Linked DNA regions of Homo sapiens: region 1 is linked to region 2. The links are contacts of gene promoters, found by promoter capture Hi-C in blood cells and fetal thymus (Javierre and others, 2016). All regions are on one chromosome and are shown on one strand. The core of a region is centred on a gene start or on the middle of the fragment in contact, and the rest is flanking DNA. Distances in the headings are between cores, read along the strand shown. Region 1 overlaps THRAP3 (thyroid hormone receptor associated protein 3). Region 2 holds the start of LSM10 (LSM10, U7 small nuclear RNA associated).

What was found. Contacts are between HindIII fragments. The CHiCAGO score rates a contact against its expected background, and 5 or more counts as called.
Region 1: a fragment that was not itself captured here is called in contact with the fragment with the promoter of LSM10 in region 2 in 2 of 17 cell types (neutrophils and naive B cells); the score reaches 5.8 in neutrophils.

The regions. Positions count from the first base shown.
Region 1 is chr1:36,280,946-36,283,645 of GRCh38, forward strand. It overlaps THRAP3 (thyroid hormone receptor associated protein 3), which reads left to right. Exons shown (of 12, transcript NM_005119.4): 3 at 1,588-1,755. The coding sequence starts at 1,619. Among named protein-coding and RNA genes, the nearest start is that of SH3D21, 24 kb to the right of the region's middle. The HindIII fragment of the contact is 1,739 bases long and covers 427-2,165 here.
Region 2 is chr1:36,396,578-36,399,277 of GRCh38, forward strand. LSM10 (LSM10, U7 small nuclear RNA associated) reads right to left here and starts at 1,331. Exons shown (of 2, transcript NM_032881.3): 1 at 1,190-1,331. RefSeq lists enhancers at 476-1,188, 1,189-1,900. The HindIII fragment of the contact is 5,014 bases long and covers 1-1,723 here.

The DNA.
Region 1 (2,700 bases), core at 46-2,545, 120 kb before region 2:
ACGGAGTTTTGCTCTTGTCGTCCAGGCTGGAGTGCAATGGCGCGATCTTGGCTCGCTGTAACCTCTGCCTCCTGGGTTCGAGAGATTCTCCTGTCTCAGCTTCCTGAGTAGCTGGGATTACAGGCACCCGCCACTACTTTTAGTAGAGATGGGGTTTCACCATGTTGGCCACGCTGGTCTTGAACTCCTGATCTCAGGTGATCAGCCCACCTCAGCCTCCCAAAGTGCTGGGATTACAGGCGTGAGCCACCGCCCCCAGCTGACTCTTTTGTAATAAAGAGCTGGAACAAATTGATGGTTCTTTATGACTAGATGTGCCACATACTCTGTAACTAAGTTAAATTGCATGCGGTTTCTTCTCTTGGAACTAGGAAACCTGTCTCACATCTCCTCATTACTTTTATTAACAGCTGACTTTAGTCTCAAAGCTTCTTTGCTTACTGAGAAAAGACTGCATGCACCAAAATTAATAAGCACCCTCATTCTTGGTCATCTCTTACAGTATTACCCAGTTAGGGTTACATGTCAGGTTTTCCATTTGCTGCTGTGGCTTGGTCTGTTTGGGATTTGTACTACTAAGAAATTCCTTTTGATGAAAGAGCAGAGTGGTTTTTAAAAATCAGTCATTTCATCTTTTTTTTTTTTTTAATGTTACTTTCTGTTTTTAAAGTTTATTTTATTTAAACAGTTGTTTTTTTTGTAGAGGTGGGGGAATCTTCCTATGTTGCTTAGGCTGGTCTCAAAATCCTGGCCTCAGGCCATTCCCACCTTAGCCTCTGGAGTAGCTAGGACTACAGGCCCTTACCACTACATCCAGCTAATTTTAAAAGTTTTTACTTTGTAGGCCAGGCACGGTGGCTCACGCCTGTAATCCCAGCACTTTGGGAGGCCGAGCCGGGCAGATTACCTGAGGTCGGGAGTTCGAGACCAGCCTTACCAACAAGGAGAAACCCTGTCTCTACTAAAAATACAAAAAAATTAGCCGGGCATGGTGGCCCATGCTTGTAATCCCAGCTACTTGGGAGGCTGAGGCAGGAGAATTGCTTGAACCCGGGAGGCGGAGGTTGTGGTGAGCTGAGATTAAGCCATTGCACTCTAGCCTGGGCAACAAAAGCAAAACTCCTATCTCAAGAAAAAAAAAATTTTTTTTTTAACTTTGTAGACACGGGATATTGCTATGTTGCCCAGGCTAGTCTTGAACACCTGGACTTAAGCAGTCCTCCTCCTACCTTGGCCTCCCAGTGCACTGGGATTACAGGCGTGAGCCACCGTGCTCAGCCACTTTCTCTCTTTTTTTTTTTTTTGGAGATAGGGTATTGCTCTTTCCTCCAGAGCTGCAGTGCAGAGGTGTGATCACAGCTCACTGTAACTTTGCACTCCCTCCTGTCTTAGCCTCTCAAATAGCTAGGACTACAGGAACGCACCACTGTGACTGGCTAATTAAAAAAAAATTTTTTTTTTTTTTTTGTAGATATGGGGTCTTCTCAAGTTGCCCAGATTAAAAGAAATGTGTTTCTAAAATGTCCAAAGAGGTTCACATTTGCAAAGGAACTCACTCATTTGTTCTAATGCATTTTCTTACATTAGGTGTAATTGAAAAGTGATCCTCTCTTCAGAGATGTCAAAAACAAACAAATCCAAGTCTGGATCTCGCTCTTCTCGCTCAAGATCTGCATCAAGATCTCGTTCTCGTTCATTTTCGAAGTCTCGGTCCCGAAGCCGATCTCTCTCTCGTTCAAGGAAGCGCAGGCTGAGGTAAGGGGGTGTGACTTTGTATATTGAGATAATCATTGCATCAGTCGATGTGGATGTTTGAAGATCTTTTGTTAGACTTTTCCTGTGAGTGTCAAATGGACTGGGGGGTTGGCTTGAGGTGCAGGGTTGGGCTATAAGATATTCCAGGTCTCTTTAAACTACAAATCCAGATCAGCTTTGACTGCCATGCTGATTGCCTGATTCCTTTCCTCTGCCAGCACATAGTATTTCCCACCCACTTTGGAAGAAAGAACATTTTATTTTTATTTGAGCTGCTTGCTTCAAATCTCTATAGCTGATTATTTTTCACCAAATTATTTTTGAAGGCTTGAACCAAAGTTTATGTGCATCACTGCAAAGAAAGGATAGCTAAGAGGATTAATAATATGAACAACATGGCAAGGAAAAGAAGCTTCAACTCACTAAAATAAACTTACAGAAACTTATCAGGAGTAATTTGTATACAATGTGCCAATTACTAACAAGCTGCATCTGTTTAGTAAATGTATCTTAAAACTTTTTAAAAATCGCTATTGAAAACATCACTTTATCTTACTGAATATGAGCACAGTTCTTTTGAATTTATTGCCAGTATTTCCTAATTCAGTCAGTTTTCACACCTTCAGGTGGATTTCCCTATTTTAATTATGTCTTGGAATAGGATGCCAAACCTCCAGCGTCTTTCCTCTCTTGGTGTGTTGTGAGTTGGATTTTTCATTCTTTAAAAGTGTTTAAACTTTCTTTTGTGGATAGATAAGAAGCTTTCAGTAAATAACAAGTTTCTATATGTGAGTTTGGGAAATATTGGTGTATTTAAATTGGTGTGCTGAAGAGGAATCTTTGTACATTTTCATTCTTTTTCCCACAAGTACATTAGCAAGGAGATGATTTGTCATGTTTGACACTTGGAACCCCTGCTGTTTATTTCAGATGAGTATCTAGAAT
Region 2 (2,700 bases), core at 81-2,580:
CATTTTGAACATGTTCCCAGGTGATGCTGATGCTGCTGGTCAGGGGCCCACACTCTGGGAACTATTGGTCTACACCATGCAGCTGTTATGTAAGTAGAAATTAAGGTAATGAGGCCGGGTGCAAGGGCTCACGCCTGTAATCCCAGGATTTTGGGAGGCCAAGGCGAGTGGATCACCTGAGGTCAGGAGTTCAAGACCCGCCTGGCCAACATGGTGAAACCCAGTATCTACCAAAAATACAAAAATTACCTGGGCATGGGCGCACCTGTAATCTCAGCTACTTGGGAGGCTGAAGCAGGAGAATCGCTTGAACCCAGGAGGCAGAGGTTACAGTGAGCCAAGATTGTGCCACTGCACACCAGCCTGGGTGACACAGCGAGACTCTCAGAAAAAAAAAAAGAAAATAAATCTGGATAATGAATTGGGGAAAAAAACCCCCAACCGGTATTATATAAGGTACATAGGTTTTGAAGGTAGAGAAACCTAGGTTGGAATCCCCACTCCACCCCTAATTATGAAAACCTAGAAAAGTTAATGTCTCTGAACCTGTTTCCACATTTATTAAACTACAGGAGAAACAAAGCTACCAGAATCACACTCCACTAAAGGTACTCTCCTTTGATTTCAACATGCCCTGATAATGTATTAGTGCACTATGTCTTACCTATCCCTTATTTTCAGACCTGAGTTAAAGGGGGTGGAACGCTCTCTCTTTACGACCTCACTCAGCATCCCGTCCAGGGCTGTGCATTGTGGCACTGAGCGTGGCAAGCCAGACTAGGCCAGTGACGAGGGGGCCTGGGAGCTAGGTCCCTGGGCATGGCCTAACGACCAGCCACCCGGCTGCAGCCTGATGAATCTGCGATCAAGCAAAGGTATGGGGCTGCTGCTGCGACTGCAAAGAGCAGTCACCGGACCTCGAGTCAGGCCCGGGTTCTAGAACAGGCTTTGCCACCTCCTAGGAGGGCGATCACTTAGCAAACCACTTAGCTTCTCCAAGCTAGCTAAGCTACCGGTAAAACGGGATGAGCACCGCTTACTCAGAGCAGCGGGAGCGGGTCTGGGGAAAGGAGCTATACTCGGTAAATGGGGAAGAAAACGCTTCCTGGGCTCCGGCACCTCCTTCCGGAGGTCCTGGCATCCCCCGCATTCCGCCCCGGGGCTCCCTGCACCGCCGACCCGGACCCACCACGCGACATTCCTTCCGCTTTCCCCGTCTGGGTCGCCGCCGAAGCTAGCGGGCGCCTGGACTGGCTGCCTCCCGCCGGCTGCAGCAGGACGGAGAAACCATGCCGGCGACCGGGCCGCTCTGTCCTCCGGGCGCAGAGTGCGTCAGTGCTCTGCAAGTCACCGCGTCACGGAGAAACTACAATCCCCAGAATGCTTCGCGGCGCGGGGCTCGTGCTCCGCAAATCCCGGCCTGCGTCATTGGAGTCTCTTTCACTAGAGTCGTTCATTCATTCCGCACGCATTCATTGAACCGGCGACCTGGGCCAGGCTCCTTCCCAGGCTCCGGCATGGAGCAGTGACCAAGATCAAGTGGCTCCCTGAGCTGATGGCGCTGCAGGGGAGAGAGTCTTAAGAAAACAAAGAAGAAAAATAGGGAAAAATTTCTTCAGAAGATTAAAGGTGTGATGTGATGGTGACAAGGTGGTCTTTTATTGGATTGTCAGGGGTGCCCTGAGAAGGTGACATTTGAGTTGAGATTAGTGACATGAAGCCAAGCTTGTGAAAACTATGGGAGGAGCATTGCAATTAGCGGGAACAGTTTGTTAAGTAAAATTTATAGGAGGCAGGGCCGGGTGCAGAGGCCCACACCTGTAATCCCAGCACTTTGGAGGACAAGGCGGAAGGATCACTGGAGCCCAGGAGTTCGAGACCAGTCTGGGCAACAATGGGGAGACCCTGTCTCTACAAAAAATAGAAAAAATTAGCCCACCGTGGTGGCGTACACCTCTGGTCCCACCTACTTGGGAGGCTGAGGCAGGAGAATTGCTTGAATCCAGGAAGTGGAGGCTGCAGTGAGCTCAGAAAGTAACACTTCATTCCAGCCTGGGCAACAGAGCAAGACTCCGTCTCAAAAAAAAAAAAAAATTGGAGGCCATTGGTTTGAACAGGGCTCCTGCACCAAGCCCAACAGAACCAAAATGGAGTCACTCATGCTAAAGTTCTACATCACCAAGTGGAAACTAAGTTGTTTATCTGATATTCCGATAAATCAGAAGAGTGAGAGATAGCTAGATCTCCAAACCATCCTGTTTTAGCTGGCAGGATAAGGAAGTCCCCTCTGCTTTAGCCTTCAAAGTTACAAGGAAAGTAACTTTGAAACAACCAATCTTTTTGTTTTCTGTTTCTGCTTTCCTCAGCCCTTTTCTGGCTGTAAAACCAATCTCCTCTGCTCAGCTCATTTGAACACTCATTCCATTTTATAGAATGAAGTGTTGCCCGATTCTAGAGTTGCAAATAAAAGTCAGATTTAACAAATTTGGCAAAAAAAAGTCAAATCACCAATTAAAAGTTAAATTTTTTCTTTTCACAGTTCATGCAAAGAACCTGGGGGAAATGACCTTGACAATTTAGGAACACAGGAAAGGCCAGGGAAGCTGGGGAGAGTGGTATAACAAGAGGCCAGAGAGGAAGCAGGAACCAGAGCATATAGGGCTTTGTGAGCCAAGGTAAGGAGTTTAGATTTCATGGTTA